Regions from separate parts of the Homo sapiens genome. Here region 2 is linked to region 1. Evidence: promoter capture Hi-C in human tissues and cell types (Jung and others, 2019). All regions are on one chromosome and are shown on one strand. The core of a region is centred on a gene start or on the middle of the fragment in contact, and the rest is flanking DNA. Distances in the headings are between cores, read along the strand shown. Region 1 holds the start of DNAH3 (dynein axonemal heavy chain 3). Region 2 overlaps LOC112268175 (a long non-coding RNA gene).

Region 1 (6,732 bases), core at 2,770-5,269:
TTCTGGTACAGGTGAGGTGGCCTGGGGGAAGTCACTTTCACTCTCTTTGGCAGATACTTTATTTTCCACCTTTCCTCAGATTACATGTAGGTTTTCGGTTGAAGCCATGGAACAGATTTCATAACCAAGTTCAAGCTTTCCTGATGACCTAGCTGTGTGACTATGGGCAGGTTAGTTTAATGTATCAGTTTCCTCAATCATAAAACTTGTGAAAATACTGATATTTATATTCTAGGTTGTTGAGAAGATTCAAAGACATGATGTCTACTAAGTGCCTAGCAGCAGTCCCAGGGCATAGTATATGCTCAATAAGCGAAAGCCATTAGTATTGTTTTGATAGTTTTAAACACTAGTAGACTTAAAACACACTAAATTTCAGATGGTAGCATACCTCCTACTCACACACAGGCCATAGGGTCCATTAGCTCCACATCAGGACCATTCTAATTTTTTTTTTTTTGAGACAGAGTCTCGCTGTGTCACACAGGCTGGAGTGCAATGGTGTGATCTCAGCTTACTGCAACCTCCACCTCCTGTGTTCATGCAATTCTCCTGCCTCAGCAACCCAAGAAGCTGGGATTACTGGTGCCTGCCACCACGCCCGGCTAATTTTTTGTATTTTTAGTAGAGACGGGGTTTCACCATGTTGGCCAGGTTGGTCTTGAACCCCTGACCTCAGGCGATCCACTCGCCTTGGCCTCCCCAGCTGCTGGGATTATAGGCATGGGCCACCGCGCCTGGCCCCATTCTAATTTTTCACTTCATTGGATTACAGTTGCTGTTTTTGGTGGGACATGAGGTTTCACACCCAGTATAGGAGACCTGATAATCTTCCCATTTCCGTCTAAACCAGAGTCTCCAGCTCTCCCACTGTCTCAATTATTCCAAATGCTATTTGAAACCGTATGTATACTTTGTGATAAAGAGCATAATATAAGAGATGGAAAAGCTCAGGGTTATTTTGAAAGGATGGAAAGCCCAACTTTGAGGAAAAGGAGTAGAAAAAGGGGGAAAATGGAAGTACTTGGTTCTATTGTGTCTGGAATTCGTAGGTTCTTGGTCTCACTGACTTCAAGAATGAAGCCGTGGGCCCTCGCGGTGAGTGTTACAGCTCTTAAGGTAGCGCGTCTGGAGTTTGTTCCTTCTGATGCTCGGATGTGTTCGGAGTTTCTTCCTTCTGGTGGGTTTCTGGTCTCGCTGGCGCAGGAGTGAAGCTGCAGACCTTCACCGTGAGTGTTACAGCTATTAAGGCGGCATGAACCCAAACAGTGAAAGAACAAACCTTCCACGTTGTAGAAGGGGATCAAGCGGCTTGCCACTGCTGGCCCGGGCAGCCTGCTTTTATGCTCTTATCTGGCCCCACCCACATCCTGCTGATTGGTAGAGCCTAGTGGTCTGTTTTGACAGGGTGCTGATTGGTGCGTTTACAATCCCTGAGCTAGACACAAAGGTTCTCCAAGTCCCCACCAGATTAGCTAGACACAGAGTGTCCACACAAAGGTTCTCCAAGGCCCCACCAGAATAGCTAGATACAGAGTGTGGATTGGTGCATTCACAGACCCTGAGCTAGACACAGGGTGCTGATTGGTGTGTTTACAAACCTTGAGCTAGATACAGAGTGCTGATTGGTGTATTTACAATCCCCAAGCTAGACATAAAGGTTCTCCAAGGTCCCACCAGAGCAGCTAGATACAGAGTGTCGATTGGTGCATTCACAAACCCTGAGTTAGACTCAGGGTGCTGATTGGTGTATTTACAATCCCTGAGCTAGCCATAAAGGTTCTCCACGTCCCCATCAGACTCAGGAGCCCAGCTGGCTTCACCCAGTGGCTCCTGCACCGGGGCTGCAGGTGGAGCTGCCTGCCAGTCCCGCGCCGTGGGCCCGCACTCCTCAGCCCTTGGGTGGTCGGTGGGACTGGGCGCCGTGGAGCAGGGGGTGGCGCTCGTCGGGGAGGCTCGGGCAGCACAGGAGCCCACGGAGGGGGTGGGAGGCTCAGGCATGGCGGGCTGCAAGTCCCGAGCCCTGCCCCGCGGGAAGGCAGCTAAGGCCCGGTGAGAAATGGAGCGCAGCGCCGGTGGGCTAGCACTGCTGGGGGACCCAGTACACCCTCCGCAGCCGCTGGCCGGGGTGCTAAGCCCCTCATTGCCCGGGGCCGGCAGGGCCAGCTGGCTGCTCCCAGTGCGGGGCCCGCCAAGCCCACGCCCACCCGGAACTCCAGCTGGCCCGCAAGCGCCGTGCGCAGCCCGGGTTCCCGCTCGCGCCTCTCCCTCCACACCTGCCTGCAAGCTGAGGGAGCCGGCTTCGGCCTTGCCCAGCCCAGAAAGGAGCTCTCACAGTGCAGCGGTGGGCTGAAGGGCTCCTCAAGTGCCGCCAAAGTGGGAGCCCAGGCAGAGGAGGCGCCGAGAGCGAGCGAGGGCTGTGAGGACTGCCAGCACGCTGTCACCTCTCACTATGCAATGCTTTTCATAGGAACTCGGGAATGTTTGTGTTCTGGACAGGTAGGTTATGGAAAGAGCAGTGGACTCGGGGTCATCAGGACAGGTTCCAATTGTATCAGTGCTACTTATGAGTCAAGTCGACTTAGGAAAGTTATGTATCTCTCAGTTTTTTTGTTTGTTTTTCTTTTTTTTTGAGATGGAGTTTCGCTCTTGTTGCCCAGGCTGGGGTGCAGTGGCATGATCTGTGCTCACTGCAACCTCCCTCCCAGGTTCAAGCGATTCTCCTGCCTCAGCCCCCCAAGTAGCTGGGATTACAGGCGACTACCACCATGCCCGGCTAATTTTGTATTTTTAGTAGAGATGGGGTTTCACTATGTTGGCCAAGCTGGTCTCAAACTCCTGACCTCAAGTGATCCATCCACCTCAGCCTTTCAGAGTGCTGGGATTACAGGCATGAACCACCATACCTGGCCCATATCTCTCAGTTTTGATTCCTTATCCTTAAAATGGGAATATCGTGGTGTTTGGGGGGAAATTGAATGAAAAAAAAAGATATGCAAGCATGGCACCCCCAAAAAACTCATTAAGTCTAACTTGGTTTTGAGAGAACTTCACAGTGACCATGGAACATGTGCTTTTAATATTCGGGCGGCAGCTAATATTGTTACTTTTGAGTATGTGCACATGTATTTCTGTGTTTATCGTAATATTGATGTTAGCCACAACATTTATAGAGCATTGACTGTGTTGGGTGATCAAACTATCCCAGTTTGCCCAGGACTGAGATTGCTCCCAGGATGCAGGACTTAGTGTTAAAATGGGGAAAAACTGGGCTGGGCGCAGTGGCTCACACCTGTAATCCCACACTTTGGGAGGCCGAGGTGGGCGGATCACGAGGTCAGGAGATTGAGACCATCCTGGCTAACACGGTGAAACCCCGTCTCTACTAAAAATACAAAAAATTAGCTGGGCGCACTGGTGGGAGGCTGAGGCAGGAGAATGGTGTGAACCCGGGAGGCAGAGCTTGCAGTGAGCTGAGATCACGCCACTGCACTGCAGCCTGGGCAACAGAGCAAGACTCTGTCTCAAAAAAAAAAAAAAAAACGGGGAAAAACTGGGAAAATATCAGTTATCCTTCTACTATATGCAAATCGCTCTGTACACGTTATCCCGTTAACCCTTCAAAGCAACCCTATGAAGTAGGGACTCACATTATTGCCATTTTACAGACGGAAAGGACACTTGGAGAGATTAAACAACTTGCCAAGCCACACAGCTAATTAATGAGAAGAGTAGGATCTGAAGTATGACCTGTCCAATTGTAGATCCCAAGAACTTAACCACCATACTCTGTGCTTTTCGACGTCTCCAAAGGTCTTTTATTGCTGTTGCCTCTGTTATTCCTGGAACATTGCTAAACACCTTCCCATGTTCCCTTCTGTCACCAACACTTCCTGCTGCCCACCTGGGCCTCCAGCAAAGGGAGACACCAGCTCACAGAGCTAGGTCATGCCCAGTCTTGTATGTAGGCACCGCAGAGGCCCCTCCTTCCCTTAGCAACAGACGCTGAGACATGGTTACTGTGCCCAGCGCCTGCATACAAGCACTGCCAGTGTTAAGAGTCCAGGGAGGAGGAGGGAGAACAGTTCGGGCTGCCAGGATGTTGTTTGGAGGGGTGAGTCTCCCTCTTCTCTGTATTAATGTGTAACTCTGCTTCAGTCTTTCCTCTGCAGTGAACTCAGTGTGTTTCTGGAAAATTTCCAAGAGAGAAGCACTCAAGGGAAAGGAAGCGTGGCCACCGCTGGGGGACTAGGAACCAGAGCCAAAAGCGCAGCAGAAACCCAGTGCTGTCCCCTTATCTCTAGCTTCCCTTTCTCTCCTTTTTTACCAGGGAACTCCTCAGCGGGCCAAAGTCTATGACCTCAGAGAGGCAACCTCATGAACAGAGCTTTCAGAACATCTGGAAAGTTCCATTGTTGGTGTCATCCCCATTATGCTATAAGGAAGTGTGAATTTCAGACCAACTGGATAGGAGAGGCACATCCCTGGAGAAGCTGAAAGCTCTTTATTCATTTTAAAAAAATAGCTACAATTAGAGTGGACACCATGGGTGACATGGATTGCTCATCTCAGAAGGTAGGTGTGAATTTTAAGACGTTTCTTGTTTTACCTGTATTTTTTTTTTTTATTTTTTATTTTGAGACAGAGTTTTGCTCTTTGTTGCCCAGGCTGGAGTGCAATGGTGTGATCTCGGCTCACTGCAACCTCCGCCTCCTGGGTTCAAGTGATTCTCCTGCCTCAGCCTCCTGAGTAGCTGGGATTACAGGCATGTGCCACCACACCTGGCTAATTTTGTATTTTTAGTGGAGACAGGGTTTATCCATGTTGGTCAGGCTGGTCTTGAACTCCCGATCTCAGGAGATCCGCCTGCCTCAGCCTCCCAAAGTGCTGGGATTACAGGTGTGAGCCACCGTGTCTGGCCGATTTACCTGTATTTTTAATGTGTTGGGAATATGTGGGAAGAGGGCCAATTGGCATGTTAGATGCCCTTGACTGAACAAGTGTATTCATCACATTTTTTTGTTGTCTGCTTTGAAATATCATTTTTGCTGAATTAGACTTTTGGAAATCTTCAAGTTTTGCTGTGAAAAATCCGGGAATAGACACCCGTTCTTCCCTTTCCTTCCCTTCCAAGCCCATTAGACCATATATTCCAACCATCAGTTTTTGACTGTGGCTGAACATTAGAATATTCTGGGGAGCATCTTAAAAACATAGAGTCTTGGTCCCCCACTCCTAGATTCCGATCCAGAAGATTTGGAGTGGGGCCCTGGAATCTATATTTTTATCTAAGACCAGAGTGATTCTGGTGTAGCACGTCCTCAGACGAGCATTTGGGAATGGCCTCCATGAAGAACATACATACAACATGTGTAATCAGCAATAAGCTGCCCAAAGTGACAGTTCTACCCAATCTAAGTTCCAGAATTTCTGTTGTATCTGTGTTGAATCACCAGGTTGCCATACAGCGAAGTGCCCAGAGGAGCATTTTAAATAGAAACTTTGTAAAACTAAAGTGGATTTGTAGATAATAACTAAGCCAATATGCTCTGAAGTGAAAGCTCCTTGAAATTTACCAAAGAGAAGATTTAAGCATTAATTTCTTTCTTTCTTTTTCTTTCTTTCTTTTTTTTTTTTTGAGACAGTTTGTCTCTGTTATCCAGGCTGGAGTGCAGTGGCGTGATCTTCACTCACTGAAGCGTCTGCTTTCTGGGTTCAAGCGATTCTCCTGCCTCAGTCTCCTGAGTAGCTGGAACTACAGGTGTGCGCCACCGCCTGGCTAATTTTTGTATTTTTAGTAGAGACGGGATTTCTCCATGTTGGCCAGGCTGGTCTCGAACTCCTGGCCTCAAGTGATCCACCCGCCTCGGCCTCCCAAAGTGCTGGGATTATAGACATTAGCTACCACGGCTGGCCAAGCATTCATATTTTTAACAAACAATTTTGCACAACCAGCTAGTTCTTATGAGAATCTCGATCTCTTGAAGGTGCCACAGAGGATTCTTAGCCATTTATTGCCAGGAAAACTCTTTTAGCCCCATTCTGCAATTGATGCCTAGATCTGCTCATGTTGTGTGTGCCCCATGTGTTCCTGATCGACAGACTGGGATGCTTTCTGCTATCAGCGTACTTATGACTGTTTGTGTATTTGTTTTAGTCCAAGCCTATGACATAGCCTAGTTTAATTTGTTTCTACAGAGGTTCTCCCTCTTTCCATTGTGTTCTGCAAAATGCTCACGGTTTGCTTTCTTCATTATCCCGAGAACAGCGTCCCTGTCAGTTTGCATGATGCAGTAAGGAAGCTGAGGCAGGAGAATCGCTCGAACCTAGGGGGTGGAGGTTGCAGTTGTAGTGAGCCAAGATTGTGTCACTGCACTCCAGCCTGGGCGACAGAGCGAAAACTTGGACTCAAAAAAAAAAAATAAATAATAATAATAATAATAAATAAGTCACTGACTTAGAAGTCAAGCCGGCCAATTACATGGCTAGGATGTGTTACCTATCTTCTCACCCTCATTTTCTTCAGCTAGAATGCGGGTATGAAAAAAATCTCATGAGGTTGTACAGTACCTGGCACATAATCGTTTGGAATAATGGTAGATAGTATTGCTGCGGTTGTTGTTTTTCTGTTGTTATTTAATGAGGTAGGTGCTCCGGGAGAGATAATGATGGTTAATTTGAGTCATCTTTAAGGGGTTGGGGGCAGAGGGACAGCTAATAGTCATATGCCCC
Region 2 (6,732 bases), core at 3,127-5,626, 1.4 Mb before region 1:
GTAGCAACACGGCAGCGAACAAGACAGATGAGCCTCCTGCCCACAGAAGCTTACATTCGGGTGGAATACAGGCTGGTGAGTTGTCATGCCGATTCCTCCAACCCCAAACCCTTTCCAGTATGGCAGGTCCTGGAGCTGGACTGGCCACCATTGAGAATCCACCCAACTGCCCATCAGCATCTCAAGTTCCCTGTTGCAAGATGCCAGGGAACATGAGAGAGGACCGTGGGGGAGAGTGAGCTCTCAATGAACCTGGTGTGGCAGGGAGAAGACGAAGATGGGGCAGATCCCCAGGGGGAAGACAACTTAAGGGCAGATTTGTTGAACTAAGTTACTTCAAAGGGTCTTCCATCTTCCAGCATGAGCAAAGAAGATGACCACACACCTGGGGGAGAGTCAGATGGCTTCTTCAATTGGAACGTTCTTCCCTAAGGATGAGCTAATATAGCACATGACCTGAAAATCCTTCTGGGAGACTCCAGGTAAAAGGGCCTTGACTGCACCAGGGAGAGAAGCTAAGTTGTAGATTTGGGGGAAATGAGTGTTAGAACAGTGAGTGCTCAAGGGAAGTAGTTAAGTGAGCCATGAGATACAAAGTCTGCCATGGCAAAGTAGGTGGAACAACCATGTTATGAGTATAAGTTCTGACCCCAGCTTTCCTGTGATTTCTAGGACCCTTGGTCTTGAAGATGGGAAATAAATGGGTGCATGACAGAAGTTAAAGACCATTATTAGGTATCAAGTACCATAGCACTTTTTGGAGGCAGAAGAGCTTGACAAATGGGCATAGTGTACATAGTAAATGATGGTAAGGGTAAAGGATAAAATGTATCATCTTCCTGTCATCAGAATGGGACCAGCACTGTGTAAGGTGGGCATGTTAATGACATGATATATAAGACAGCTTTTGCTACAATAACAAGGAACTCCCTAGGCCTGGCACGGTGGCTCATGCCTATAACCCCAGCACTTTGGGAGGCTAAGGCGGGTGGATTACCTGAGGTCAGGAGTTTGAGACCAGCCTGGCCATCATGGCGAAACCCTGTCTCTACCAAAAAATACAAAAATTAGCCAAGCAAGGTGGCACTGCCTGTAATCCCAGATACTCGGGAGGCTGAGGCACTAGTGGTGCTTGAACCCAGGAGGCAGAGGTTGCAGTGAGCCGAGATCACTCCACTGCACTCCAGCCTGGGTGACAAAGTGAGACTCCATCTCAAAAAATAACAATAACTTAAAAAAAGAGAAATAGCTCTCAAATCCCAATAGATCCCTATAACAAATATTTGTTTCTTGCTTCTGAGTCTTCAGGTTGGCTGTGATTACACTGGGTTTGGCTTGGCTGAGCTCAGCTAGGTTCTGCTGAGCTCAGCTTGGCTCCAAGGTTTGGGTTGAGTTCAGGTCTGCTCCACATGTCCCTTCACATGAGAAGCAATTGCCAAGAGGTCAAGTCAAATCATGCAGCACATTTAAAACTTCTGCTGGGGGAAAATGTGTCTGCTCACATTCCAATGACCAAAGCCCAAAGTTAGAAGGGCAAGGAATTAGACTCTACCTATTGAGATGTACTACAAAGTCACATGGCAAAAAGCTTATAATTCTAATAAAGGAACTAAGCAGAATCACTAGGAGCAATCACCTAGTCCGCCACACATGGAGATGTGCCACAGGGACTCAGAGACTGGAAGGAATTCCCCAGGGCCAGAGTTCTCCTGGGAAACTACAGCCTCCACCATTGCCTCCCAGATTTCATCAGCATCTCTGTAGTCTGGCTCATCAGAGGCCACAACGGAGATAAAGGCAAATAAAGACTTCAGCTGCTGGCAAGCTGCAGATATCTCCATGGATCAGCCAAGCCCATGTCTCTTTCTGAAACAATCAGTAATCGGGGAAGTGACAACAGAAAAGCGTAATACAAACTACCTATGGTATTGGAAGAATCCCAGGAATCGTTGGAGGTCTTGAATGAATTTGAAGAGGGTACTCAGTTCAAGACTACTTTAAGACACACACTTTGTAGATGTCCCAACTAGACACTGTGTGGCCTGGGAATTCTGCAATGTTTACTTTTTTTCAATTATATTATGTTATAATATATTTATAAGAAATATATATCATATATAAGATTATATATAGCTTATGTATCTAAATATAATATAGATATATTATATATCTAAATATAATCTTTGATATATATCTCATATATTATCTTATATATGATATATTATCATATACATGAGTTATATGTATCTCATATATATTATTTTCTTATATATATGAAATATATCTCATATATATAAGATATGAGAGCTATATATCTCATATACAGATATAGATATCTATCTACATCTATATTCCCAGGCCACACAGTGTCTAGTTGGGACATCTACAAAATGTGTGTCTTAAAGTAGTCTTGAACTGAGTACCCTCTTCAAATTCATTCAAGACCTCCAACGATTCCTGGGATTCTTCCAATACCATAGGTAGTTTGTATTACGCTTTTCTGTATATGACATATATATCTCTCATATATGAGAGATATATATGTCATATACAGATAGATATAGATCATTCCATCACCCAGGCTGGAGTGCAGTGGCACAATCATAGTTCATTGCAGCCTCAAAATTCTGGGCTCAACTGATCCTCCCACTTCAGCCTCCTGAGTGGCTGGGACTACAGGTGTGTGCCACCAGGCGGGGGCTAATTTTTCTTTTTTTGGAGACAGAGTCTCACTCTGTTGCCCAGACTCAGATGTAGTGGTGCAATCTCAGCTCACTGCAACCTCCACCCCCCAGGTTCAAGCAGTTCTCCTGCTTAGCCTCCCAAGTAGCTGGGACTACAGGCACGTGCAACCACTCCCAGCTAATTTTTTGTATTTTACTAGAGACGAGGTTTCACCATGTTGCCCAGGCTGGTCTTGAACTCCTGAGCTCAGATACCTGCCCGCCTCAGCCTCCTAAAATACTGGGATTACAGGAGTGACCCACCCACTGCCCCCAGCCTTTTTTTCTTTTTTTTTGGTAGGGACAGGATTTCCCTATGTTGCCCATGCTGGACATGAACTCCTGGCCTCAAGTGATCCTCCTGCCTCAGCCTCCCAAAGTGCTAAGATTATAGGTATGAGCCACCAGGCCTGGCCCAATATTTCTAAAGGCCCCTCAAGAGGCAAAAGTGGGCAAAGGACTTTTAAGGACAAAAAATGCCTAGTATTGAATATTAAGTTGTTTACTGTGTTGTAACTCTCTTCCATGACTTCAGTAAAGCAGAGTAAACACACACATGCCCCAAGACACAGTAACCTCTGTTTGGTAGTACAGCCCATCACAAGCAGCTGTGGCTGAACCCCTGGGTACCAGGACTAGAGAGGATAACTTCATTGTAAGTTCCACTGGATGTTAGGCTGAAGTTGCAGCCCCCATCAAGCCAGGCTTGGTGTCTGGAGCGGGCCTGAAGGTAGAGATTCTGCAAAAGGATCTAACTGGGGTGATATTCAAAAAATTTAGAAGCCAGAATGGCACAGGTCCTGACCGATAAGAACCAGAGCCAACATGCTGTGATCTGCATACAAGTGCCAGTGATCCCTGCCTCCAGCTGAGGAGGGCTGTGAAGGATGGAGGCTAGAAATCCATCAGGAGAGCTGACATTGAAAGGTGAATGGGAGCAGCACCTGCCAGCGTGACCTGCTGCTTTCCTGCATGCAAAGGACGGTGCATTTCAACCTGAGACCCTGGGGTTCCTGCAGGGCATCAGCTAGATTTGTCTTCCTGCCTGGGATGATCACCAATTATATGTGCTGTGAGGCAAACTGTCCTCCCGCCAGAGGAGGAGGTGAAGGGATTTACAGAATCTCTCTCTGATCTGACTTATTAGAGAAGTTAAAGGACACCCGTCCAGGAGGCAGCACAGTACAGAGATAAAGAAGTCAGGATTCAAATTTGTCCTATCTGGGAAGCTTAGACAAGAGCTCCTTAACCTCTCTCACACTCAGTCCCCTCATCTGGTAAATGGGAATCCTAACAGTGCCTACCTGGCAGGAGCATGGCCACAATGAAATGAGCTAATGACACAGTGAAAGCCCTTAGACAGCCTGACCCAGAGTCAGACCTCTGTAATGGGAGTCATTATTCAAGATGGGAGGAAAGAAACAGGAATTAGATCAGAAACAAATGACCAGAAAGAGAGATGAAATACAAAAGCTACATGAAGTCGGCAGTGTGAAGCCTGACTCGCAGGAGAGTGGATTTTGTTACTGTTTGCTTTTTCTTGTCCAGGATAATCCAAGACTGGCAGAAAGTGAGAATACCGATTGAGATCCAAGGACATCCTCATGGGAGTCTGTGCAGACAGGTTTTCATCAAGAACCCCTCTCCAAGCAGCTGGTCCAGCCCAGCTAAACTGGGGGCTGCTGTTTGTAAGAAAATTAATGCTCTGGGCCAAGCACGGTGGCTCATGCCTGTAATCTCAGCACTTTAGGAGGCCAAGGCAGGCGGATCACTTGAGGCCAGGAGTTCAAGACCAGCCTGGCCAACATGGTGAAATCCCGTCTCCACCAAAAATGCAAAACTTAGCTGGGCATGGTGGCGCATGCCTGTAATCCCAGCTACTCAGGAGGCTGAGGCAGGAGAATCACTTGAACCCGGGAGGTGGATGTTGCAGCGAACCAAGATCATGCCACTGCACTCCAGCCTGGGTGACAGAGTGAGGCTCCATCTCAAAAACAAAAACAAAAAAAATTAATGTTCTGTACCTGAGGAGCACCCATTTGCTGCTACTTCCCTGCCAGGATGAAGGAAAACCAAGTCAGACATTAAATAACACGTGCAGGATCACAGGATCACACCTTTCACACTGCAGTCTTAGTTTTCTATAAAACCACGTGACCTCTGAAAATACACTCCAGCCTCTGCAACACCTACTCATGACGCTTTGTAAAATCCACCGCCTTTTAGGGACACCAAGATTTTCGGAAACATGCAGTTTTCTTACCTCCAGATGAGATGTCTACTGTGGATAGGTGACTAGGAGGAGAACCCAAGGTGTGCTGATGGCAGAACAGAAGCACCTAGGATGCCACCAGGGAAACGCCCTGACAAGCAGCTGTGATGCTGTCTTCGAGAAGGTGTTTGCAAACACCACTGCTGCCCCCCTTCCCTGAGCCCTGACTTCCTAAACCTAAGGCTAAAAGCATCCTGGCAATTCCCGGAAGTAACTTCATTCTAGCAGGATCGAGCCAGTGGGTGGAGTTTTCTCAGCCCGCCAGGATCACATCAGTGACTGACTTACCCAATGTACTTTTATTTTTTATTTCAACCAATTCCCCAAAGCCCAGAGCAACTTAAAACCAGAAGAGCCACCACCATCTCCACCAAAAACAGGGAATATTTTGAGAGTTTAATGATAACTTCACAGCCATCCATTCAGCTGAGTCCCAAGGAAATGGAAGACACCTGAAAAATGTATTTTTAAATTGATTTAACGTTGAGCCATGTTAAATGTTTTAACTTCCAACCAATGCAATGCCCACCAAAACATCAATTAGTCCCAGCAATCAGGCAAGAATATTGGCTTCTGCTCAGGGATTCATTTATTTCAGCTCTGCTAAATATCGTAGAGGAGAAATCCAATGTAGCCTGTAGCTTCAAGAAAGTGAAATTAAGCCCAAGTAGAAACTAGATGAGGCCCTGGCTAAAATGGTGCCTTTTCTTGCACTGCCTCTCTCTGGTATCTCTCTAAAGTGAGGGCAGCAACTTGATTGTAAGGGTCTCGTGCTGTTAACAGAAAACACCCTTCCTTCCCCACAGGTTCTCTGTCTCCAAGCTGGAAAACAAAAGAGGCTGCAATGGGACAGAGAAGGGCTTCCTGCTGAGGAGATGAGTGGGCTTAAGAATTTGCAAGATCAAAAATCAAAACAATTAAACCCATGGAGATAGAGTAGAAGGAGAGTGAACAGAGGCTGGGAAGGGTAATGGGAGAGTTGGTGGGGAGGAGGCAGATGGTTAACGGGTACAAAAAAAACAGAAAGATGAGTAAGACCTACTTTTCCATAGCACAACAGGATGACTATAGTCAACAGTAATTTTTTTTTTTTTTGAGATAACGTCACTCTGTCACCCAGGCTAGAGAGCAGTGGCATGGTCTCTGCCCACTGCAACTTCTGGCTCCTCAGTTCAAGCGATTCTCCTGCCTCAGCCTCCCGAGTAGCTGGAATTACAGGCGCACACCACCATGTCCAGCTAATTTTTGTATTTTTATAGAGATGGGGTTTCACCATGTTGGCCAGGCTGGTCTTGAACTCCTGACCTCAGGTGATCCACCTGCTTCGGCCTCCCACAGTGCTGGGATTACAGGCATGAGCCACTGCACCCGACCCTATAGTCAATAGTAATTTAATCGCACATTTTAAAATAACTGAAAGAGTACAATTGGATTGTTTGTAACACAAAGGATAAAGGTTTGAGGTAATGGATACCCCATTTTACATGATGTGATTATTACACATCGCATGCCTGTATCAAAACATCTCATGTACCCCATAAATATATATACCTACTATGTACTAACGAAAATTAAAATTTAAAAAAATTAAAAATAATTTGCAAGATCATTTTTAATAATTATTTTTCATTTGGGGTGCATTTTCACCATCAAGGCCCCAGGGTTTCCCTGCCCTAGATGAGGGTCTGGATCCAGGGAACGGTGTCCCACCATCTGGAGCATCCTGTCTCTACACAC

Evidence for each region. The method cuts DNA at HindIII sites, captures the fragments that hold promoters and counts their contacts. A contact is called where the count stands out against the background at its distance.
Region 2: a fragment that was not itself captured here is called in contact with the fragment with the promoter of DNAH3 in region 1 in 1 of the 25 tissues and cell types used here (lymphoblastoid cells).

Annotation. Positions count from the first base shown.
Region 1 is chr16:21,148,133-21,154,864 of GRCh38, reverse strand. It overlaps DNAH3 (dynein axonemal heavy chain 3), which reads left to right and starts at 4,019. Exons shown (of 62, transcript NM_001347886.2): 1 at 4,019-4,114; 2 at 4,331-4,575. The coding sequence starts at 4,546. RefSeq lists an enhancer at 1,563-1,857. The HindIII fragment of the contact is 16,051 bases long and covers 1-6,732 here.
Region 2 is chr16:22,576,729-22,583,460 of GRCh38, reverse strand. It overlaps LOC112268175 (a long non-coding RNA gene), which reads left to right. Exons shown (of 4, transcript XR_002957911.2): 2 at 1-75; 3 at 360-482; 4 at 5,802-5,997. It also overlaps the pseudogene OTOAP1. Among named protein-coding and RNA genes, the nearest start is that of LINC02890, 33 kb to the left of the region's middle. RefSeq lists an enhancer at 779-1,279. The HindIII fragment of the contact is 3,211 bases long and covers 2,771-5,981 here.